Regions from separate parts of the Homo sapiens genome. Here region 2 is linked to region 1. The links are contacts of gene promoters, found by promoter capture Hi-C in blood cells and fetal thymus (Javierre and others, 2016). All regions are on one chromosome and are shown on one strand. The core of a region is centred on a gene start or on the middle of the fragment in contact, and the rest is flanking DNA. Distances in the headings are between cores, read along the strand shown.

The links. The method cuts DNA at HindIII sites, captures the fragments that hold promoters and counts their contacts. A CHiCAGO score of 5 or more calls a contact.
Region 2: a contact is called between a fragment that was not itself captured here and the fragment with the promoter of WIF1 in region 1, in 1 of 17 cell types (endothelial precursors). The highest score is 6.2, in endothelial precursors.

What each region holds. Positions count from the first base shown.
Region 1 is chr12:65,119,239-65,124,140 of GRCh38, reverse strand. WIF1 (Wnt inhibitory factor 1) reads left to right here and starts at 2,836. Exons shown (of 10, transcript NM_007191.5): 1 at 2,836-3,097; 2 at 3,585-3,724. The coding sequence starts at 2,950. RefSeq lists a silencer at 2,516-2,675. The HindIII fragment of the contact is 2,494 bases long and covers 757-3,250 here.
Region 2 is chr12:64,867,230-64,872,131 of GRCh38, reverse strand. TBC1D30 (TBC1 domain family member 30) reads right to left here. Exons shown (of 12, transcript NM_015279.2): 11 at 1,324-1,530. It also overlaps the pseudogene RPL7P39. Among named protein-coding and RNA genes, the nearest start is that of LINC02389, 14 kb to the left of the region's middle. The HindIII fragment of the contact is 823 bases long and covers 2,227-3,049 here.

The DNA of each region.
Region 1 (4,902 bases), core at 1,587-4,086:
AAATTTAAAAACTTAAATCAATTCTTAATGAAATAGCTACATAACTGCTCCTTAACAACAGAAAGGAGAGTCAAGCCTGATTCATCTCTTAGAGATAGACCTCCCTACAAAAAGAACCACGCTGCTACCCTTAAAAATCACTGTTGTATAACAAAACATGTGTTCCTTTGTCCCCTTTAATAACCAAACGAGTTTATATCAAAAATTTTTTAAATAGCATTTCTCTTTATCTATCTCTAATAAAATATAATTTTTCTAAGTGTCCTGTGCTGGAGAGAAGTAAACAGAAAACAACCATTCTGGAAGAAAAAAAACGTCCTTATAGCAAGATAGATTACCATTGTTATCAACACCAAATTCAACTGCTGCAGAAGAACCTCACTCAGAGGAAACCGAGTTAGGAGAGAATTTAGTTCCTCTTTTTCTTGCACCAAAAAATAAATTTTATGAATATTTCTCAATTAGTATTTGATTAGGAAAACCTGTAGAGGGCGTCCTTGCACCAAGAGCCATAGAGGTTTGCGCAGAACTAGAAAAAAATGTTAAAACCACTCGCTCCGAGTTAAAGAAAATGCCTATTGTGCTGTGAAATTATTATCTTTACCTGGGTGACACTGGCATTATAACATTAAAGTGTTTTAAAAGTAGCCTAATGTTCATACATTATATACATGAATATTCATAGAAATAAAAAATAATGCAATGTTGGGAAACAGGTAAATATTTTTATTGTAAAGGAAGAATCACTGTGAAGCTTTGGATGCAAATAGACTTAATTATGATTTATTTATCAGTATGAGGTATAAGTTACTAAGAGAATGGGCTTTGAAATCAGAGTGTCTGGGATTTGAACCCTTACTCTCATTTACCAGCTGGATATCCACAGTCAACTTACTGGACTTTTTGAGCCCTCTTTCCTCGTCAGTAAAATAAGAATAATAGTAGTACCTACTTAAGAGTTGTGAGGATTAAGTAAGCACTTAAAATAAAAGTACTTTAAAAATTAAGACACTGCAAGTTCAAATCAGTCATAGACTTCTTGTCTAATTCCTTTTTTCCTTTTTTTTTTTTCTATTGGTTGGTTGTATAGCTGCAAATATTTCCTCATTGGAAATCTATATTCTCAGAACCTAACACTGATTTAACTTGATGCCTGCACATGTCCACCATCTCTTCTGTTGTTTCTGTTTGTTTTTCCCTCTTGAGGCATCTGCTACTCTATAAAGGACTGATTGAAACACCACGCCCAGCCCCAGACATTTGATCCTTGAGGCATTTGTCACAGCTTCGGGTACTAAAGAACAAACACAAGTAAATGAACCTTTTATGAGTCCGAAGGCTAAGTTTTTTAATTAAAAACAAAACAAAACAAAACCCTTTTGCTTCCGTTTTCTTTGTGCATCCGAGGAATTAGGCAGGAGGCAAAAATCAGTTCTTTCTGCTGGGCCAGGTGGATAGGTTATGCTGCAGCCCACTGCCGGCCAAGCATGCTTCTCACAGACGAGGCCAGAGCCTTGGTTTTGCCCCCACGCACCTGTGAATTCGGCAACTTTTAAAAAATTATTTTATTTATTTATTTATATATTTTTTGAGACGGAGTCTCGCTCTATCGCCCAGGCTGGAGTGCAGTGCCACGATCTTGGCTTAATGCAACCTCCGCCTCCCGGTTCAAGTGATTCTCCTGCCTCAGCCTCCCGGGTAGCTAGGACTACAGGCCCCCGCCACCATGCCCAGCTAATTTTTGCATTTTTAGTAGAGACGGGGTTTCACCACGCTGGCCAAGCTGGTCTCGAACTCCTGACCTCAGGTGATCCGCCCGCCTTGGCCTCCCAAAGTGCAGGGATTACAGGCGTGAGCCATCGCGCCCGGCCGAATTCAGCAACTTTTAAAAAATATCAGCAAACGTGAAGATATCCACGATGTTAGAGGAGCCCTACCCCGGAGGGTCAGGTACAGCTATCGTCCAGGGCCCAGGGCACTCTTCCGGGCACTGCCGGGTTATCAGGGAGACAGACGGGAATCCCCAAATGCTGGGTGTCGGGCAAGTACCAGCTGGACGCCCTGCGCCTCGAGCCAAGGCCAGCGCCTGCCATCGGCACCATCGGACAGTCGAGCCTCGAGTTTTAACTGCTTGGGAGCGCGCAAAGTGCCAGCCTATCGCAGAACGGAGCGCATAGGGTTGGCGGAGAGAGGAATCCTACTGGCTGAAAGGGAGACGAAGGGCAATTTGCGCCTTCAGTGAGCGCCGGAGGAGGAACAGGAGTCATCACCTCATCATCATCATCATCATCATCATCACCATCACCATCACCATCATCAGCACTCAGTCAAGCCCAGCGTTGTCTGCTCTCCCCATTTCCCTCCCCCGAAGCCTCCCTTGGCCCGAGGAGGTGGCGAGTGATGTCCCAGGGGTCTCTGAGTGCCCTTCTCCGGGTCCGCCAGCCCTACACGCCCACTTCGCGGGCGCTCCACTGGGCGCACCGCACTGTGAATGCAGCCTCGGGGGTCCCTCGCGGCCCCGCCCCCGGGGGGGCCCCACAGCGCCCCCAAGTGGCGGCCGCCCAGGCCTCGCGGGCCCCACTCCTCGCTCGCACCTCGCTCGCGCCAGCCCTTCCCGCTCTTCTGTTCTCGCTCTATTTGCCCCGCTGACTGCTGGCCTCGCCAGCTTTGCCAGTCTTACGTCTCTGCCGCCCCCACTCCCGCCCGCGCCCCATCTTCTTGCGCGACTCGCGCCCGCTGGTCCCCCCCTCCTCCTCCCGCGTCCTGCCTGCCCCCTCCTCCTGCTCTCGCAGGCTCCTTGGCACCCAGGCCGGGAGGCGACGCGCCCAGCCGTCTAAACGGGAACAGCCCTGGCTGAGGGAGCTGCAGCGCAGCAGAGTATCTGACGGCGCCAGGTTGCGTAGGTGCGGCACGAGGAGTTTTCCCGGCAGCGAGGAGGTCCTGAGCAGCATGGCCCGGAGGAGCGCCTTCCCTGCCGCCGCGCTCTGGCTCTGGAGCATCCTCCTGTGCCTGCTGGCACTGCGGGCGGAGGCCGGGCCGCCGCAGGAGGAGAGCCTGTACCTATGGATCGATGCTCACCAGGCAAGAGTACTCATAGGTAAGGCCCCCGCCTCCAGCGCCTTCCCCTGCCTATGTCCTCCTCTCTCCACTCTTCAAGAAAGAGGGATACCTGCGTTTCTTGTGTTTTAAAACTTAATTTCCACAAAAGAGTGTTCCCCTCTTTTAATTAGATATTTTCCATCTGAAAGCTTATAAACTTCTCTTTTAAGAAACCAAAGCTGATCTAGTGTTCTGATCATGCTGTTGTTAATTTTTATAGCCCTGCGTTTTTAGGTGCACCCGGCATTTTTTTGCGTCGGTTAACTCCATGTCCATCCCTTTTCCCTGAAAGCATGGGTCTGTTGGCATCATTCTCATCATCCACAGAGAAAAATTAATCTTAGTAGCGTTGATGGTACTGAAGGCAGATGCTTGTGAACAGAAATGACCCACACTAATTCTTTGGTTTTCTTTTTGCTTGAAACTTCTGATTTAGATGATTTCAAGTCTACCTGGTTTGATCGTTTTATTATTTTAAAAACCAGGATTTGAAGAAGATATCCTGATTGTTTCAGAGGGGAAAATGGCACCTTTTACACATGATTTCAGAAAAGCACAACAGAGAATGCCAGCTATTCCTGTCAATATCCATTCCATGAATTTTACCTGGCAAGCTGCAGGGCAGGTAAGTTCTGAGAAAATTACCCTTTAATATTTCCACTGCCTTATGGCAGGTGGAAATAGTACTGTATAGTGTGTAGCCTGGTACATTTTACAGTTATTAAGAGAAATTTCTCATCTGATTGCCAAAGCAAATAAAGAATTAATTTCCATTTATTTCAAGTTGCCATATCAATTAATGATCTTCAAAAGAAAAGAACAAGCCTTGTGCCTAAGCCCATTATTTTGATAAGACTCAGTGTCCTGAGGCTGCTGGAAATATAAAGACCTCCAATACCAACATCACTGTGTTTCTGTGATCATTGACATTAAAATTTAACATACTTAAAGGACTCTTTTTGCATAGTAGTTTCTAATCACTTGTGACATTCTTCATACTTTACAACAAATTTTAAAGTTTGTAAGTATTTTTGACATTGTGCACTTTTAAAAAGTCAGTATGTTGAATGTTATTCACTGGAACGTGAATGTTGCATATTTCTGGTAGAAGTTAGACCCAAAAGGTGTCATGTAAGAACGTTATAAAATATTGCAGCCTATGTTTTCAAGTTACCATTTTAAATGCTTTCATATGGAAAAGAAAACTGGAATCTATTTTTTATGAAGAAGCATTCCTTTTATTCCTTAGCACATTAGCATCTTTTATATGTTACCTTTTGTACATTTTTATGGCTTCTAATTTTAGAAAGAAAGAATAAAATGCTTATGTAAATTTAATTTCTTTTGTACAATTGGAGAATTTACTCTAGAGGACAAATGGTAAGCAATGCATTCTTCAGCTTATTAGTTGGTAGAATGTGTCTACTATGAAAATCATTATAATTATAATTAAAACCACATTTTTCGGTCTTTTATTCTAAAGTTCCTTAAATGATTATTTTCAAGAAGAATGTGATACCGAAAACACTTTATAAAAAATAACTATTTTGAATTGAGAAACCACTTTGTTTCCCTCTAATTACCTGTTGTGGTATAGACATGACCTTTTTAGCTGTCTTTTTCCCTTCAAGTCTGTTCTCTTTTTCTTCTTCTTCTGAAATAGATCAAATCTAGAACCTTCAACACTTCCATTGCTATGTGGTTAAAAAAAATTGAGGTTTTGGATTCACTGAGGTTTATAACAGGAAAGTCATCTATTGTTAATACCCCCATTTTGCAGATAGGTTCATCGAGGTTTCCATT
Region 2 (4,902 bases), core at 1,389-3,888, 250 kb after region 1:
TGCTTGAACTTGGGAAGTGGAGGTTACAGTGAGCTGAGATTGCACCACTGCACTCCAGCCTGAATGACAGAGTAAGACTCCATCTCAAAACAAACAAACAAACAAAAAACTGTATTTACAAAAACAGGTAGTGAGCAGGATTTGGCCTACAGACCACAGTTTGCTGATCCCTGATGAAGGTACAAACCACTGGGCCGATTTAGCACCCTGAGCAATTGTTTACCGTCACACCCAAAGACTTGTACAGTGTAGTTAAAAAGGGACTGTACAAAGAATCAGAACACCTGTGTTCTAGCCCTGGCCTGACCACTCACTATAGCTATATAACCCTGGACAATTGCTAAGCCTTCCTGAATCACCATTTCCTCACTATTTGGAAGAAGATGGGACTATCTGTCCTTGCCTTCCTCATAGATTTGTTTTAAGGACAAAATGAGGAAATGTATGTGCCAATGTTTTTGAAACTTAAAGTGAAATTGTTCAGTTATTTTGTGACTGGTTTCTTAATGACTCAGGATAAAGTGAGAATCATCAAGAAGTCAACTATTCTTCTCTGATAAATGGAAGGTAAATTCAGTTTTTGTGCAGGATCAGTCACATGCTCACATGCCACTTTAAAAACATGTCAAATTTATATTTCAGTTAATTCTGGACAGGCACCATTTTCATTAAGATATTCACTTCAAGCAAGAAAAAACAACTCCCAAATCAGCATATATTAAACAATAAAGCAGACTGTTCACTGGGATTTTTGGAATTAAAAAGAAAAAAGCTTGGCAATCCTTGGAAAAGAGCATTTCCAATTGCATTATAATTGTGTTCTTCTTAGTATATTCCCAAGATACTTGCCATCAGCAAGGCACAGGTTTTTAATGTTTTTTTTCCCAGTTTCTCTGATACAACATCTGTTATAATATCACCTAAATGACTAGTATACAGCTTAATTTACTAGTGCACAGATGATTCTATATTCAGATGCATAAAATTTATGCTCCAAAATTTCTCAAGTCCAAGGATTGCATGGCTTTGCAACATTTTAATCATTTGTAAACCCTTCTCCACAGCACACACAGTAGAGACGTGTTTAATACCATCAACTGCCTGGTCCTTGGGGCCTAAAAAGAACCTGCAGTCTTTTTCTTCTTTAGAGCCTGATAAAATAAAATTTAAAATGAGATGCTAAATATGCTATTATGTCATGCCAGCTGTGTTGATGGATACTGAGCTACAGTTAGTAATTCCAAGGCCTTCCTAGGATTATTTGTTCTTCATTTTACAAGTTGAGATAGAGCTGAAATTGATTCAAATGAAGAATCACATTACCTGCCCTGATGTACACCTGATGAACCTGCTGCTGTTGCTTCTTTTTAATTCGAGAGTACTGCCGCTTCAGTGCATTGATATCTGTGGTCATGCGTTCCATCATCATACTGTTAAAAGCTGCATGGTATTCACTTCGACAGGAATTGATTGCTCCTGGACTCAGCTCTGCAATGTTATTAGATCTCAGACTCTGCTCCTCATTTGGCTCTGCGCTCGAAGGATGAGACATAAGGAGATGGTCGGTGGAGGGGAACAGGAGTAAATGGAAATTGATAACACTACAACTCAGTGCGGTATCTTAACCTCCATGAAATTCTAAACCACAGAAAAAAACGCATACTAGAGTTTGTCTAGTGCTTATTTTGATGTGCCCCTGAAAATATTTCTGCATTTTCTTATTAACCTAACTGTGGGTCTGACATGAGCTATATGGGTTCAGAGTTTGATTTTGTTACCAGTTTGTTAGCTATATAGACATAACATCAACTGCTTCCAGATGAAAATCACTGCCATTGTCTAAGATTTCCTTAGAAAGATATAACTCCTAATTTCTAAAATCACTGTACAGATTTCCACACAACGGCATGAGGATTTATACAGAATTGGTTTGTAGAGTTTAGACAGTCATTAAAAGTGCATTCTTCTTACATTAAAGGTAGTAACACAATTTATAAAATTATCAAGACTTCAGACCACTGTATCACTAGAATGAATGCTTTGTTCATTTAACAAACATTTCCTGTCCACTCTGTTGTTATATCGGATGTGGTGTCTGCTCCTGTGATAGCTACAACTAGCAGATTTGTCTCTTAAATAAAATTGAGATGACCTCCAAAAAAGAGAAACAATACTAGGTGGGAGTAACCCACAGACTACACAGGCCAAAGCGGGAGACAGCAAGCTTCTCCAGCACAATTTGTAAAACTGACATGGGAGCCAGAGTCAAAAAAAGACTGAGAGACTCCAACTATCCTAACATCTGCTGAGAGTGTTATTCAGACAAAGGCTAAACATCTCAGAAATTCATTTTTTTACTGTAATCATTTCTGTAAGGAGAAGAAAATTAAAAGAGAAACTGCTAATCAGAGCAAAATCAACAAGAAAGACTAATGATGAAATTTAGGAGAAAGTGATCATGTCATCCTAGAGCACAAAAATGCACAGAAAGAAAAACAGAGAAAAAAAAATGAAACATAGACCCAGGCTACAGAAACGCAGATTCAAAAACTTTACCATTAAAATACATATTGATCCTATGGCTAGAAATCAAAAGCTGGAACTCAGGCAATAAGAAAGGGGGTAGAAGGCATTGCAGAAATCAAGAAGACTCTTGTTGGGTTCAGATTTTTAAAAAGCCTTTAAAAGGATGACAGAAGAGCACATACCAAAGACATACTCACAAAACAGTATGAGCCCAGCCATTAAAAAGGTTAAAACTCAAACAAGCTGAGGCTTGCAGGAAATACTCCAAAAGATCACCACCAAAAGTTAGAAGTAGCAGCAGCTGCTGCCACTGCTCCTATCTTCCAAATAAGAACCAAAAAAAGAGAAGATAGCCCCATGACTTCAAGAAGGTAGTAAAAAGTTAGCAGATGGCAAAGAGAACACAGAGGTGCCTGACATCTATTCAGTTTCTGTCCTCTTTCAGCATATTTCTAATATCTTTGAACAAGGAGAATGGTCTTCAAACTAGAAGAGGTAGAATAAATATCCTAAAAGAAAAGCTTCCACCCAAGACAAGAAAGGACGTAGAGAACCACAAACTTTAAAACAGTGCATAACATTGATAATTCCAGACCACAGAATTCTATTCTGTTTAGAAAAAAAAAAATGAAATAAAACATGCATGTGATTCAGAGCACAACATTTTAAGGGGAACATTACCAAATTACAGGATATCTAGAGGTAAATTAATAGAATATTAGGAGGTCCAGAAGTCATAACTTAAGAGACATGCTTAAAGAAATTCTGAACTGGGGCCTTTGAGAAAGCTTTGGAGGACATGATAGCTGTCCTCAAAGATTTGAAGAGATGTCAGGTAGAAGAGGGAGTAAGTAGACTTGTTCTGGTTTTTTCCAAAGGGAAGAATCCTCTTTTCCAGCTGGAACCATGGAGGGTGTCGAAGAGAAGAAAAAGAAGGTTCCTGCTATGCCAGAAGCCCTTAAGAAAAAGCAAAGGAATTTTGCAGAGCTGAAGATCAAGCACCTGAGAAAGAAGTTTGCCGAAAAGATGCTTCAAAAGGCAAGGAGGAAGCTTATCTATGAAAAAGCTAAACACAGTCACAAGGAATACAGGCAGATGAACAGAACTGAGATTCAAATGGCTAGGAGGGCAAGAAAAGCTGGCAACTTCTATGTTCTTACAGAACCCAAACTGTCATTTTCCCTAAGGATCAGAGGTATCAATGGTGTGAGCCCAAAGGTCTGAAAGGTGGTGGAGTTTCTTCACCTTTGTCAGATCTTCAATGGAATCTTTGTTAAGCTCAGCAAGGCTTCAATTAACATGGTGAGGATTGGAGAACCATACATTTCATGGCGGTACCCAAACCTAAAGTAAGTAAATGAACTCATCTACAAGTGTCATTATAGCAAAATCGAAAAGAAGCAAATTGCCATGACAGATAACACTTTGATTGCTCAATCTCTTGGTAAATATGATATCATCTGCATGGAGGATCTGATTCATGAGATCTATACTGTTGGAAAAGGCTTCAAAGAAGCCAATAACTTCCTGTGACCCTTCAGATTATCCTCTCCACAAGGTGGAATGAAGAAAAAGACCTCCTATTTTGTGGAAGGTAGAAATGCTGGCAATAGGGAAGAGAAGAGCTACAGGCTTATTAGAAGGATGAACTAAGGGGTCTACCATGATTATTTCTGTAATCTGGTCAGTTAATAAACAGTGATGCCTTCAAATAGAAAAAAAAAGCAAAGAGAAGAACTATTAGTAGAACGGGTAGGTGGAAGTTATCTCTTTGTAAACAGAAACCATGGACTAAGGGGAAGAATCAAGCAAAGTGTCTTGTGAAATAATAAGTTTCTTGTCACTCAAGAAATTCAAGTAGAGGTCACCATAATGTTTTGATTTAAAGGGTAATCCTATTGGAAGAGAAGCCAGTCTGGAATAAATTAAACTCAGATGGAGTATATTAAGCATCTACTATATGCCAGGGTCTGTGCTAAGGAACTTAGCATACAAAGTTGAATCCAATGCATGGGAGCAAAAGTCACCACAGAGAAAAAGAAATGTGTACTACGCATGCAACACATAATACAGAGGAAAACCATTACATAATAAAAAGATAAAGTAACAGAGAAGATACTTTTAGTAACAATTTTTTTTTTTTTTTGAGATGGAGTCTTGTTCTGTTGCCCAGACTGGAGCGCAGTGGCATGATCTCGGCTCACTGCAACCTCTGCCTCCTGGGTTCAAGCGATTCTCCTGCCTCAGCCTCCCAAGCAGCTGGGACTACAGGCACGCACCACCACAGCTAATTTTTGTATTTTTAGTAGAGACGGGGTTTCACCATATTGGCCAGGCTGCTCTCAAACTCCTGACCTCATGATGCATCTGCCTCAG